Linked DNA regions of Homo sapiens: all the other regions are linked to region 4. The links are contacts of gene promoters, found by promoter capture Hi-C in blood cells and fetal thymus (Javierre and others, 2016). All regions are on one chromosome and are shown on one strand. Each heading gives the region's core, a stretch centred on a gene start or on the middle of the fragment in contact. The rest is flanking DNA. Distances are from core to core; before and after follow the strand shown. Region 1 overlaps LHPP (phospholysine phosphohistidine inorganic pyrophosphate phosphatase). Region 2 has its middle 30 kb from the start of OAT. Region 3 overlaps LHPP (phospholysine phosphohistidine inorganic pyrophosphate phosphatase). Region 4 holds the start of ABRAXAS2 (abraxas 2, BRISC complex subunit). Region 5 overlaps LHPP (phospholysine phosphohistidine inorganic pyrophosphate phosphatase).

Region 1 (2,700 bases), core at 94-2,593, 270 kb after region 4:
CACTCTAGGGGCCGAGCTTAACCCTCCCCTGTTCAGCCCACACAGCTGGGGCTCAGCCCCACTTGACACATGAGGAAACCCAGAGCCAAGCAAGGCAAAAAGATCATGCTCAAGCCGGGTAATCCCAGCACTTTGGGAGGCCAAGGCGGGGAGATCACTTGAGCCCAGGAGGCTGGGCAACACAGGGAGACTCCATCTTTATAAAAAATTTAAAAATTAGTTGGGCGTGGTGGCATAAACCTGTTTCCCAGCTATTTGGGAGGCTGAGGCGGGAGAATCACTTGTGCCCAGGAGTTCCAGGCTGCAGTGGGCCATGATGGTGCCACTGCACTCCCACCTAGGAAACAGAACAAGACCGCATCTCAAAAAGAAAAAAACAAAAAAAAAAAAGCACAAAGAGATCACGTCCAAGGTTACATGGTTAGCACGCGGCAGGGGACTGGGTCTCATACCCAGATTCTGGCAGTGCTCTTGGGGTCTCCGGGCAGCTGGACTCCCCCTCTGGAGGGTGGGGCTGGGCTTTTCTGTCTCCCTGCTGCTCTGGTTTCAGCCCCCGGGCTCATGAAAAGTCAGGGAGAGCACCCGGGGCTACCAGGCTGGGCCTGGGCAAAGGGCACCCCAGCCTGGAACTACGTTTGGAGCTGGAGTAGGGGGCCTTGTCCCTGGCTGTCCCCAACCTGAGGACAGTGGAGCTAGAGGAGCACACCGGGTTCACATCCTGGGACCCACCCATGACACAGAGGAACCTGTGCACAAATAAAACCACTGCTGCAAGATGGTTGAAAATAAGAACTGCGTCCAGCTGTGCCTGCAAGGACAGGAGTCAGGGGCCTCTGAGCCCCCTTTCCTTCCTTCTTCACTTTTCCAGGCTGGAAAAGATGTAGCAATCAAAGGGTCAAAAATGCAGATTCCCTGATGCATCAGAACACAGCAGCAATGGTGAATGCTGTGGGGGATGTGCCCTCCCCTGCCCCTGGGCTGTAAGCGCCACCAGCCCTGGCCGTGTCCCCGAGCCGCAGAGCAGCAGCGGAAAGGCAGAGGCCAGCCCTGTGGGCAGCGAGAGGGCTCAGGTGAGACTCCAGGTCTCAGAGGGGCTCTGTGGCGGGCAGGCTCTGGCAGCCCTGGGGGCATCCAGCAGAGCCCAAGTGGCCCAGGTTCATGTTAAGGTTAGAGAACATTTTGGGCAGGTGGCCGGCCTGGCTAGGACGGTGGCCACAGCTCCTGCTGCAAGTTCACTGCGGGCCCCTTCTTCCCCTGCTTGCTGCGGCCTGGCCACGGCTTCCCAGATCTGCCTGGGTCCCCTCCCCACCTCCCCACCACACACTGGAGGGGAAGAGAGCGCTTGGGTTCAGCGGACTTTAACCACAAAGGCAGCAACGATGGGACTTCTGGGGCTGTCACCTGTCACATCTCCGCCAGGCTCTCAGGTGGGTGGGTGGGGTCTAATGACCAACTTCAGGGCCTGCCCTAGGTCAGAAGCCCCCAGAGCCAGGTCCTGCTTATGTCCAGCTCAGCAGCAGGTCGTGTGTGTGTGGAGGGGGCCAAAGCGGGGGAGGGCGGGAGCTGACCAGTCCTGTGAGCCCCCACACTGGCTACTATTGTTTTGTGAGGCCCGGCCCCTGCTCAGAGCTCCAGCAACACTTGGCTAATTGGGGGGTGGCTTGAGAATGTTCAGGGGCACAGGCCTTGGAGTCAGGCAGAGGTGGGTTCGAATCCCGATTCTGACACTGGTAGGCTGTGTGGCCTTGGGCAAGTTACTTCACCTCTCTGAGCTTCCATTTGCAAATCTAAATGGTAGGGGTAAGAAGGCGGGTGGCTTCTCTGGGCTGTTGCAGGGTGTAGACGAGCTGAGGCTGAGTGTGTGTAAGCATGAGCACTGGCCCCGCCATGAGGCATACCTGCGTTATCCCCCTTCCAGCTCCTGGGGAACGCGCTTCAGGGAGTGTCTTGGGAGAAGAGCACGTGTGAGCACCAGGTCCAGAGCACGTGCCTTGCAACACGTGTTGAGCGGCTCTAGGGAGAAGAGAGGGCCCTGCTGACGCTCCCTCAATCCCTGTCCCACCACTCCAGCGCCTTCCAGGACCCTCGAGGGACCTGCACGTTCCCAAGAGGCAAATTCCTGGGGTTGGGAGGCTGCCTACAGGGGTCCTACCTTCTGGGCCAACCCCCAGGCCTTGTGGCCTCACTCTGCAGCCACCTCCCGGCCTCCACCTGGGACCCCCTTCCTCAGCTCAGAGCCCCCCAGCCCTCAGCCCACCGGTTTTCCCACAGGCGGCACCAAGCCCAGCAGGGGGGTTCAGGTTTTAACATCTTTCCCCTCTTGCCCTGGACATGAAGCAGCCTTGCTCAGGAACCAAGAATGCTAATGAGGGTCAGTACCAGAGAGGGTGACTGTTCCCAATCCTGTCTCCCCTGCCCCAGCAGCCAACAGAAGGCAGGAAACCCAGCAGAGGAGGAAGCTGATGCTGCCCCAACCAAAGCCATGGGGGCCACGATGGGGTGTCTGCCCCTGGAAACCCCATGTTCACCTGCTGAGCCATGTGGACCCCACCAGCCTCCTTTCACACACTCGCCTCCGCCTCGGGTCTCCTCCCCACTCTCTCAGGAGGCCCAGCGTCCGGGACTGCCACATGCTGACAATGTCCAGAAACCTCCCAGGACCGTAAACTGGGAAGAACATGGGCCTCCCTCCCAGAACAG
Region 2 (2,700 bases), core at 36-2,535, 410 kb after region 4:
CTTGTGTGGAATAGCCAAGCATGGCTCAAGGCAGGGTTCGGGAGGACCACCGACAGCTCAGGCTTGCACATCCATGGGGATGCAGGGTCTGGGGGCCTTTGATCTTGGTGGCTTTCTCCTAGGCCAGTCTCTGAGACCGGCAGTGAAGGGCAAGTGGGATCCACCAGCCCCTACTCTCTCCTGCCTTCCTTTTTATCACAACATCTCTTTAATTTATGGCCCCTGAGTGCCAAGCCGTGTACCTGTGAACAAATGGAGTAATTACTCCTGGGAGAAATAGAAAAACATGGATGCAGACCATACAGAAAGCTGCCGGCTTTCAGTGGGGTGACCTGGGAGTGATCACCGGGTGAGGGTGTCCTGCCAGTGTTCTAGGAATCCTGGAATCATGGAGGGTCTCCTGCCAGTGTTTTCATGTTACTGGAGGCTCAGAGAGCGGAAGGGACTTGTCCACCGGCTGCGCTCCCTGGGACAGAAACCTGGGGAGGCCTCCTGATGATGACGGGAGGCGGTGGCGTGGGTGGTTGCTGCGAGGCTCAGAGCTTCGGTTTTGCTTTTGCCTCTGACAACCAGGATGACCTCTGGCAACTCAATGCCTCTCTGTCCTTTATCGAATGAGGGGGTTGAATTAGGACAGAACAGTCACGGGTGGTTTCACAACAGGTGTATGTTCTGAGAAATGCGTCCTTTGGCGATTTTCTCGTTATGTGAACATCATGGCGTGTACTTACACAACCTAGATGGCACAGCCTGCTACGACACAATGCTAAGTATTTGCATAGCTAAACACAGAAAAGGCACAGTAAAAATATGGTATAATCTTTTGGGACCTCCGCCATATTAGAAGGGCATGACTGCCTGGTCTCTGGAGGTGGGGGTGAGGACTGACCAGGTGAGCCTGAGCCCCCATCCAGTGGGCACCGGGCTCAGGTGGGCGCGCGACGGGTCTTGGGAACTGACAGAGGAGCCAGGGTCTGAGGCCCCCGGCAGGTTTTATATAGAGATGGCCAGAAAAGCGCCCCCACGTCCTGTGAGGTTCCCATTCCCCCGTCTTGGGTTTTAAGATCCCCTTGAGACTTAGTTTCCCCCAAAGTCAGTTTCCCGAGAAAAGGAGGCCCCATTTCAGCAGAAAGGGGCTTCGAGCTCCAGGGAGAGGACGGGGGTGTGGCGAGTTGTCCCCTCCCCTCCAAGACTCAGCGCCCACGCGCAAGTCAATAACCCCAAGTCCGGGTCCTGGGGCTTTTGGCCGGAACTGCTCGCAGCCATAGGGCCCCACGCGCGTTGGGACGGCAGGGGGCGCTGCCCGCAAAGCGTTGCTTCCCGGCCGTCCTGCGAGCCCGCGAGATGCGCGTGCGCGAGGCCGGGGCTCGGGAGCTGGGGCGGGGCCGTGGGCGGGGCCAGGAGCCGCGCTGGGGACCGTGCCCTCCTCCGCCGAGGCCTGTAGGGCGCTCGCTCTTCGCTGGGCCGAGTCCCCCCGCGCGCTGCAGAGCAATACAGTTCTGTAAAAGTTTATTATTCTGACGTTGGAATATGCTCCTTGGAGACAATTCAGAACTTGCAGAAACCAGAGCCCCGCGGCCCCTCCCTGCGTAGACTGCGGGCGGCTGTCCCGGGCGTGGGCTGCGGCCCCGCGGGCCCATGCGTGTTCTGGGGACTCTGGGGCGCTGGTTCAGTCCCGCGTGTGTGGGAGTCACGTTCACCTCCTCAGTGCCAGGTGCTGTCCGCGCACCCGTCGGAGCGCCTCGGTTCACCGTGCAGAGGTGTGGGCTCCGGGGCAGGGAAGGGTCCACCCCACCTCCCGCGCTGCAGCGAGCTTGACAGGTGGTGATCCTGGACAGGCGCATCCGTTGGGCCGGGGGCAGGGGCGCTCTGACCCTGTGGGCAGGGCCTCCCGGGACTCTGCCCGGAGCTCCTGGCTGGGCTGTGCCCGGAGGGATCTGAGTGGTGGTCCTTGGGCCCTTGCGGGCCTCAGTTTTTGCCACTGTGCAATGGCCTTACTCATACCTGCCCTGGTGATTGGGGGACCGAAGTTGTGCAGGGGGTGGGAGGATGCGGGGCCTGGTCTCTGCCTGGCTGGGGCCCACCTTGATCCGTGTGGCCCTGCTGAGCCCTGTCCACTGGTCACTGAGATAGTGACGGTCCTGGGCTGGGCAGGAGTGGCAGGCCCTGGGTGTGTGGATGCCATAGGAGGAGAAAGAGCTTTTCCTCACCGTCCTAGGTTCCTGCCTGGGACTCATATAACAAGAGAATAACATACACATTTATTTAATATAATTTTTACCGGATGCAGGAGCCTTCATAAGGAAATGAAGACCCAAAGAAATGTGTAAACCTGTGTGTGTGTGTGTGTGTGTGTGTTTTTGAGACAGAGTTTCACTCTTGTTGCCCAGGCTGGAGTGCAATGGCAGGATCTTGGCTCACTGCAGCCTCCACCTCCTGGGTTCAAGCGTTTCTCCTGTCTCAGCCTCCCAGGTAGCTGGGATTACAGGCGCATGCCACCAGGCCCGGCCAATTTTTGTATTTTTAGTAGAGATGGGGTTTCATCATATTGGTCAGGCTGGTCTCGAACTCCTGACCTCAGGTGATCCGCCCACCTCGGCCTCCCAAAGTGCTGGGATTACAGGCGTGAGCCACCACACCCAGCCAAACCTGTGTTTTTTATGCTTGGTTTGATAAAAAAAGTGGATAGTCCTAGAAAAG
Region 3 (2,700 bases), core at 178-2,677, 290 kb after region 4:
GTGAGGCCTGACCTCCTGACCTACTGGGCTTGTGGGTGGTCAGGAAAGGCCTCCCAGAGGAGGTGAGGTTCTGAGCTTTGCTCTGACAAGCAAAAGGGGCCAACCAGGTTGTAGGACATGGAGGACAGGTGGGACACGCCCAGCAGGGGCTACCACACGTGTTCACTACCCATCTCCCCACCACTCACCAGGGCACGCCATGCTGTGAATTCCAGAAAGCACACACATATAAGCCTGAAGCAACTGTCCTGGGAACCGTCTCCCAAACAGGCCTTCAGATAACCAAGGAATCATCAGGAGCCATTGAGAAAGTACAAAGACAGAGCCAATGAGGCCCCCTGAGGCCAGGGAGGTAGTTTCAGCTGAAAACGGAGCTTTTCTGCCACTCGGCATGGACTCGACATGTATCATAGTCAAGCAGAGGCCAGAGGGGCCTCCCTCAGAGAAGCCACGGCGGATGGTGGTGCTGAGAGAGAGCTCGGAGGAGGTGGCTGAGGGCCACAATGTTGAGAATTCTGCCAGTTACTGGTAGCCGCAAGCCACCGCGAGACATGAGGTACTGAAATAAAACCACGTCTTCCTGGTGTGGTGCTCTCTACTTCATACTTTCCACGGATTTTCTCTGATCTTTCCTCCACCCACCCCTGTGCTTCCCAGAGTGTGTCATGCACACGGGTGACATACTATTTGACTCCAGGCAGAGCAAGGACATACATTTTAATGTAATCATGTGGTCTTTATTTTTAGATTAATCTATTATGGTAAGTGAGAGATTCTGGTTTTCCATTTATAGTAGTCATCAAAAGTTCCTTTTAAAATACATTTATTTAAGTAATAAAATGAATCAATTTTAAGAAACGTGAAGTAAATAGAGCTAGTGGCAAGTACCCAGATATGGTAAAAATACCCAGATATGGTAAAAATTCAAAGTGTTTTTTCCAGAATGACTGATGTTAGGGAAAATCCTGCCAAATCCAAATGAGGTTTTCGAGTCTATCAAACCAACACCTGGCCAGGCAAGACACAGCCAGTGGCACCGCGTGCTCCCGGGAATGGGACCAGCACCAGTGTCTGCTGCATGCACAAGGGGCACTCTGAGGGTTGGGAAAAGCCAGGGCTGGCCGGGCAAGCCCCCACGGCTGCTGGCATCTGGCAGCAGGGCCGGCCAGAGCCCCCGTATTCGGGTCCCCTCTGCCCTTCTCAAGGAATTGTCTTCAAACCGTGAGGTCAGCAGTGAACATTCACAGCACTCCAATTCAGGACCATGTCCACTGCTGCCAGAGACTCCAGGGCCATCCTGCTAGAAGGTTCCTTGGAAATGCAATGGGTCTTCCAAATATTACATGTCATCCTACACCTCCATGCTTCCGGGGAAAATGAAACTGTGTGCATGCTCCTCCCACATACAAAACCAGACAGCACACAGGTTTCCCTCCCAGAATACAGACTTGGTTCTTCCTGGGCTGGAACATTTGTGGATGTGGCCCACGGAGACAGGACCAGAGGAACGTGGTCTCTTGGAGGAAGAGTTCTCATGCAGGAACAGCGTGGAGGTTCTGCGGGATAAAGCGAGGCTGCCTCCAGGCAGAGCCCCGGGAAGCTGTCGGCGAGGGAGGCGGAGGCTGGGGGCCGGGACGCCAGGGCCGGCTGGGTGCACAGCTGCCTGGAGCAGTGATGCCTGTCCAGGCCAGCTTGTGGGCTCCGCATACCAAAGTGCGCTCAGGACCCCAGGGGATTCCCAGATTTACTATCGGTGAAGGGCAATAATCACGCAAGGAGGAGCAATTATTGCCAAATCATTTAGGATTTAAAAAATCACTGGCAAGAAGATAGAGGTCAGGAGGTGCGCTGTCAGGGGAAATAAAAATACTCCACCTGCCAGGGCTGGGCTTCGCTTCCTTTCAGACACGACATGGTGGGGTGTGAGGCGGAGAAAAAAATGAAAGGTCGGACCCCCCAGAACCCAGGATCCAGAGAGCCGGATGGAGGCGCCACAGTCCCAGAGGCAGGTGTCCTGGGTCGGGTGCTACAGCAGTCAATCCTCCCTCTTACGCATCTGCCTGCCTGCCCTGGTCTCCTCTTCAGTGTCCTAGGTGCTGGAGGGAAACATCATCTAACAGGCGGCGATGCTTTGGAGTGCAAAATTCCAGCACCAAAGAGCTTCCGTGGTTCACAAATATTTTCCTTATCCAGGGGCTCTGCCAGGAGGATTAGGGCGGGAAGCAGCAGGGCTGGGTGGTGAAGGTGGAGTGAGCTCAGTGTCTGTAACTGCAGCTCTGGGGTGCACATATCCCCCAGGGAGATGCCCTGAGATGACAGCTCACTCTAGGATGAGCCCTGAATCCAGGCCCCAAAGGAACCCAGGCTCCCACAGAGACCTGGAGACAGTGCAATGCTGAGTAATTGCCACTGTGGTCGGACACCTTCATAAGGAACAAGACTAACAGCAAAACTCAAAGACCACTTTAAAAAAAAAAAGTCAGAAATCATGGTGTTGGTAAGGATGTGGGGAAACAAGCATCTGTATACGCAGCAGGTCAGGAAGGTGAACGGACACACCTTTCTGAAACAGAAATAAGCAACATGCATCACAGCCTCCCAGCCACACCACTAGGATTTGGAGCAAATAATTAGAAATGTACAAGAGGATGTACATACAAGATGTGTTCATCAGGGTTACGCACAAGAGCGAAACTGGAA
Region 4 (2,700 bases), core at 147-2,646:
TTTTTCAACAGGTAGCTGCTTGTTCTTACAGTAATCTTGCCATATACATAAACTGTGATATTAGTAGGCATTCAAGAAATAAAGGACCCATTTTTAATAGTCCATGGACACTAGGGGTATCACAAACCCTTACATATGGAACTATATTACATTATTAAATAGCTGGTTGTAGTACCCTAGGCCATAGTCTTCAAAGCTGCTTCTGGAAAAACCCATGATGTATATATTCCTATTCCTATCATTAAGTTCTACCATCAACACTGAAGAGATGAAAGGTACAATAATTTAATTGCATTCAATTTACTAATGGAATCACCTCCCTGTGAAATCAGTTTTTATTAATGGAAGCTAAGATTGCTGACATCAAACCAAATGCAGTTCCTCCTTCTGCAGTGTACCATTTTGCTTTGTAATGACAACCAAAAACCCCACACATAGGTTTAATGAGTTTGAATCATTCACTATTAACATCACTTAAAATAATCCCCCAATTTGGTGGCCAAATTATATACCTCCTTTAAGAGAGAAGTGATCTAGTTTCACAAAGCATTTCCAATCAGAGGCCAATGACGTTAAAAGACAATTTGTAAAATAAAGACACTGAAACAGACAGGATCTGCTCCTCCTGTGGGCTCACAGCCTATGCATTTCCCATCACTCAGTAGTGGGCCTGTCACTTCCCTATTTCACTGTGACTAGTGAAAGAACTAGTCACAAAGAACTAAACACGCAACTTCAAGGAAATACAAAATAGACCCTGCACCGAACGCTCCTGTATACATTCTCCATTTTGCATCAGGGCGAAGAAAACACACAACCGTGTCTAACAAGTATCAGTAGTGACAGCCACGGTTTCACTCGCAGCACCCCCACGACAACCTGCGAGACCGGCGGGCGGGGCTGAGTACCTCGCCTACTGGACTAAACGCCCGGCCTTTAGATTCCTTCCCGACCCCGTGCGCCCCTCTTAAGTCTAGAAGCCTGACTTTCAGGGAGGGGCAGGCGCTCGGTTTCCACCGAGCGACTCCTGACACTGCAGGAGGCCAGGTGGGACAGTTTTGCTGCACGGGAGACGGCTGTGCCGGGACGGCCGAGCGGCTGAGAGCGCGAAGCCAGGGGGCCTGTCCCAGGGGCGAAGGAGCCCCCAGAGGCAAGAGCTCACCGGGGGCGGGAGCCGCCCGGGTCACCAGCTCCTCCGGCCGGCCCTGGTGCCCAGGGGGCGAGCCGCATGAGGTCCCGGCTTGGCCGCGAGCGCCGGCCTGAGACAGAGGCTGAAAGCCCCCAGCGGGCGCGGCAGGGGGCCCGGCACCTACGTGGTCCGCGTTGCTGTTGGCGCTGTGGAAACACACAGCACTGAAGGTGTAGCCCGAAATGGACGCCGCCATGATGGAAATCTCCAGCTACCCCATCATGCCCCGCGGAGGGCACACGGCCTTCCGGACGGCCCGACCCCTTGGCATCATGGGAAGTGGAGTCTGCGGCGGGCAGCGGCCGAGGGCCCTGAGCGCTCACAGTCTTGAAGGCTGAGGAACGCCGGTTTTTGCGATCGGAAGGACCCCGGCACCGTATCCTCCGCAGGGGTGTCGCTCCCGACACGCCTCAGACAGCGGTTGATAGTTCCGCAAACAGTTCTTTCCCTTTGCAAGTGAAACCTTAGTATTAAAAGACAACATTCTAGCCGGGCGCAGTGGCTCACGCCTGTAATCCCAGCACTTTGGGAGGCCGAGGCGGGCGGATCACCTGAGGTCAGGAGTTCGAGACCAGCCTGACCAACATGGAGAAACCCTGTCTATATTGAAAATACAAAAACTAGCCGGGCGTGGTGGCACATGCCTGTAATCTCAGCTACTCGGGAGGCTGAGGGAGGGGAATGGCTTGAACCCGGGAGGCGGAGGTTGCGGTGAGTCGAGATCGTGCCATTGCACTCCAGCCTGGGCAGCAAGAGCGAAGCTTCGTCTCAAAAAAAAAAAAAAAAAAAAAAAAAAAAGGCCAACATTTAGGCTGAGCGTGGTGGCTCGCGCCTGTAATCCCAGCACTTTGGGAGGCCGAGGTGGGCGGATCACGAGGTCAGGAGTTTGAGACCATCCTGGCTTACACGGTGAAACCCCGTCTCTACTAAAAATACAAAAAATTAGCCGGACGTGGTGGCGGGCTCCTGTAGTCCCAGCTACTCAGGAGGCTGAGGCAGGAGAATGGCGTGAACCTGGAAGGCGGAGCTTGCAGTGAGCCGAGATCGCGCCACTGCACTCCAGCCTGGGTGACAGACCAAGACTCCGTCTCAAAAACAAAACAAAACAAAAAGCCAACATTTGAGGCCGGGCGCGGTGGCTCATGCCTGTAATCCCAGCACTTTGGGAGGGGGGGGCGTGTGTGGGGAGTGTTAACCTGAGGTCAGGAGTGTTATGCGCGTTTGTGTGAAGAGACCACCAAACAGGCTTTGTGTGAGCAACAAGGCTGTTTATTTCAACTGGGTGCAGGCGGGCTGAGTCCGAAAAGAGAGTCAGCAAGGGAGATAGGGGTGGGGCCGATTTATAGGATTTGGGTAGGTAGTGGAAAATTACAGTCAAAGGGGGTTGTTCTCTGGTGGGAAGGGGCGGGGGTTACAAGGTGCTCAGTCGGGGAGCTTCTAAGCCAGGAGAAGGAATTTCACAAGGTAATGTCATCAGTTAAGGCAGGAACCGGTCATTTTCACTTCTTTTG
Region 5 (2,700 bases), core at 174-2,673, 310 kb after region 4:
ACAGAGATGGACACCCACAGATGGGAGAGATACCCACAGACAGAGAGAGATACCCACAGATGGCGAAAGACACCCACAGACAGAGAGAGACACCCACAGACAGACAGCCATAGAGAGAAAGAGACACCCACAGATGGAGTGCTGTCCCCCTGGTGCCAGTGAGAAAGCTGAGGCTGGGAATGGGTCAGCAACCGAATTTCAGTTTACAGGCGTATTTGGTCGTGGACATGGTCAGCCACCTCAGTAAAACTGGTGAGGGTTATTTTGCATTGAATAAACTTATAAGCAGAAAAAAAAAAAAAGAAAAAAATTACAAGAGGTTGGGGGCGGTGGCTCATGCCTGTAATCCCAGCACTTTGGGAGGCCAAGGCGGGCGGATCACAAGGTCAGGAGATTGAGACCATCCTGGCCAACATGGTGAAACCCCGCCTCTACCAAAAATATAAAAATTAGCTGGGATGGTGGCGGGCGCCTGTAGTCCCAGCTACTCAGGAGGCTGAGGCAGGAGAATCGCTTGAACCCGGGAGGGAGAGGTTGCAGCGAGCCGAGATCACGCCGCTGCACTCCAGCCTGGGTGACAGAGCGAGACTCAGTCTTAAAAAATATATATATATACAAGATAGCCACACCATAGATAACCATGCCCCAAGACATATCCATTTGCTGCATGCTAAGTCAGTCACAAATATTGTTTGGTGAACAATAAAAAACAGATGACAAAACAAGGTCAAGTGTGACATCGATGCTGTGAACATCTCCATCCATAATAGTCTATTCGCACAGGAAGCCACTTGCAAGGACATACACCAAAATAGGGACAGGTGTTTTCCTCGTGCAGTGGGACTAAAAATACTTTCTGGTTTCTTCTTTTGCTCATCTGTATTGTCTAATTTTTCTTCAATGAACATGTGCTATCTCAGTGTAAGAAAAATGTTAAAAATAACCAACACTGTTTTGTTTAAGAAAGAGATGGCAAGGCATGTGCTAAAGGCTCAGACAAAACACTGATCACAAAATCACAACTTCACAGAGACAGTGATCTGTGGCCAGAGACTGTCGGTGCCCAGACTGGGTAGGCCCTCAAGCCTATGTTTTACTAATTAGACAACCCTTGAGAGCATTCTCCAACACCCTGCTACATCCTATGCAAATGCACCTTCTCCTTCTTTGCTCTAAACTTGGGACAATCAACACTTGGCCTCTGAGATCTCCAGAGGGTCTCCCTCTGCAATGACGCCCTCTTCTAGTCTAGACTCCACATGGAAGCTTGATCAACCAGCTCCTGAAGACAGTGTTCCTATTTCCTAAAGAAATGATTAAAGGAGAGGAATAAAGAAATGAAGAGAGAAAGCATGAAAAAGGGAGGGAAAAGAAGATCACCGGTGCTCCTCCCACCTCCCCTTCTGCATCCTTCTCTGCCTGATTCCGCAAGTTGGAGACTGGCACAGCATCATCTAAAGCACCGAGAAATGACTCTCCCTGGAGCCAACTTACCCTTTTCCCAGTGATATGAGCACAGGTTTTTCCAGCTCCATGAGCACCTGGAAGGCGTTATTCATGTTTTGATAAGAAAAGCTTTCTCCTGCGTCTGCAATTACCACACAGTTTGGGTTGGATGTGTCGATCTGATCAAATTCTGAGCGGACTCCTGGAAAGAGAGAGAGAGACAGAGTGCCACGGAGCCCTGGGAGGACATGGCCTACCTCCCCATCTCCTACCAGGGACACCTTTCACATGTCCTCCCCCTTTCTCAGATGCATTTCTTTCTGATCATCACAGCTGCCATGGGAGGTAGACACAGAAGGGTTATTCCTATTTGACAGAGGAGGGAATTCGGCTCCTCAGAGAGGGCTTATGAGGAGAAAGGTGGACACACCCAGGACCCTCCATCCCAATACCACATCAGCCCCAGGAGCTCCCTGAGGTCACTATCGCAGGCAGGAAACCCACAGCTTTGCTACTGAGAAGGGAAATCTGCTCAGAAGACACTGAGAGCCTGCAGCAGGAGGAAATGGGGCTGCACAAGCCTTGGAGGGTTGGCACTACTGGTCCCAAACTGTAAGAACCGTTGACACATTTCAGGCAACCCCACACATATGTCCTGAAGAAAAAGCAGAATTCCATCCCCACAGGTCCAGTTCACCAGCTCCCTTAGGAAACTCTCTTCCTCCTTCTCCTTCTTTGTCTTCCCCCATTTTAAATTAAAATAGGAAAATTTGCAAGGATACATCAAATCATTGGATCTGTGTTTTCAGATCCTAGAAGAAACATGCTGTCATCTCTCTTAGGACTAGATGTTGACCTTTCTAAATTGAAAAGAAACTGAGGCCAGGTGCGGTGGCTCATGCCTGTAATCCCAGCACTTTGGGAGGTCAAGGTGGGCGGATCGCCTGAGTTCAGGAGTTCGAGACCAGCCTGGCCAACATGGTCAAAATCCCATCTCTACTAAAAATACAACAATCAGCCCGGCACGGTGGCGGCCGCCTGTAATCTCAGCTACTCAGGAGTCTGAGGCAGTAGAATCACTTGAACCCGAGAGGCAGAGGTTGCAGTGGGCTGAGATTGCACCACTGTATTCCAGCCTGGGCAACAGAGCGAGACTCTGTCTCAAAAAAAAAAAAAAAAAAGAAAGAAAGAAACTGAAATACACAATGAGATACGATTTCATACCCACCAGAATGGTGAGAATTAAAAAGACTG

What was found. Contacts are between HindIII fragments. The CHiCAGO score rates a contact against its expected background, and 5 or more counts as called.
Region 1: a fragment that was not itself captured here is called in contact with the fragment with the promoter of ABRAXAS2 in region 4 in 17 of 17 cell types (naive CD8 T cells, non-activated CD4 T cells, naive CD4 T cells and 14 more); the score reaches 21.2 in naive CD8 T cells.
Region 2: a fragment that was not itself captured here is called in contact with the fragment with the promoter of ABRAXAS2 in region 4 in 1 of 17 cell types (total CD4 T cells); the score reaches 5.3 in total CD4 T cells.
Region 3: a fragment that was not itself captured here is called in contact with the fragment with the promoter of ABRAXAS2 in region 4 in 1 of 17 cell types (naive CD8 T cells); the score reaches 6.9 in naive CD8 T cells.
Region 5: a contact is called between a fragment that was not itself captured here and the fragment with the promoter of ABRAXAS2 in region 4, in 9 of 17 cell types (total CD4 T cells, non-activated CD4 T cells, naive B cells and 6 more). The highest score is 10.1, in total CD4 T cells.

Annotation. Positions count from the first base shown.
Region 1 is chr10:124,525,463-124,528,162 of GRCh38, reverse strand. The region is part of intron 6 of LHPP (phospholysine phosphohistidine inorganic pyrophosphate phosphatase); the gene reads right to left. Among named protein-coding and RNA genes, the nearest start is that of LHPP, 65 kb to the right of the region's middle. The HindIII fragment of the contact is 9,266 bases long and covers 1-2,700 here.
Region 2 is chr10:124,388,004-124,390,703 of GRCh38, reverse strand. No RefSeq gene overlaps it. Among named protein-coding and RNA genes, the nearest start is that of OAT, 30 kb to the left of the region's middle. RefSeq lists a silencer at 1,198-1,487. The HindIII fragment of the contact is 3,581 bases long and covers 1-2,700 here.
Region 3 is chr10:124,509,342-124,512,041 of GRCh38, reverse strand. The region is part of intron 5 of LHPP (phospholysine phosphohistidine inorganic pyrophosphate phosphatase); the gene reads right to left. Among named protein-coding and RNA genes, the nearest start is that of LHPP, 49 kb to the right of the region's middle. The HindIII fragment of the contact is 9,442 bases long and covers 1-2,700 here.
Region 4 is chr10:124,800,515-124,803,214 of GRCh38, reverse strand. It overlaps ABRAXAS2 (abraxas 2, BRISC complex subunit), which reads right to left and starts at 1,396. Exons shown (of 9, transcript NM_032182.4): 1 at 1,314-1,396. The coding sequence starts at 1,385. RefSeq lists a silencer at 1,121-1,200 and enhancers at 689-1,242, 1,301-1,570, 1,243-1,797. The HindIII fragment of the contact is 5,454 bases long and covers 1-1,952 here.
Region 5 is chr10:124,487,370-124,490,069 of GRCh38, reverse strand. It overlaps LHPP (phospholysine phosphohistidine inorganic pyrophosphate phosphatase), which reads right to left. Exons shown (of 7, transcript NM_022126.4): 3 at 1,495-1,648. Among named protein-coding and RNA genes, the nearest start is that of LHPP, 27 kb to the right of the region's middle. The HindIII fragment of the contact is 309 bases long and covers 1,269-1,577 here.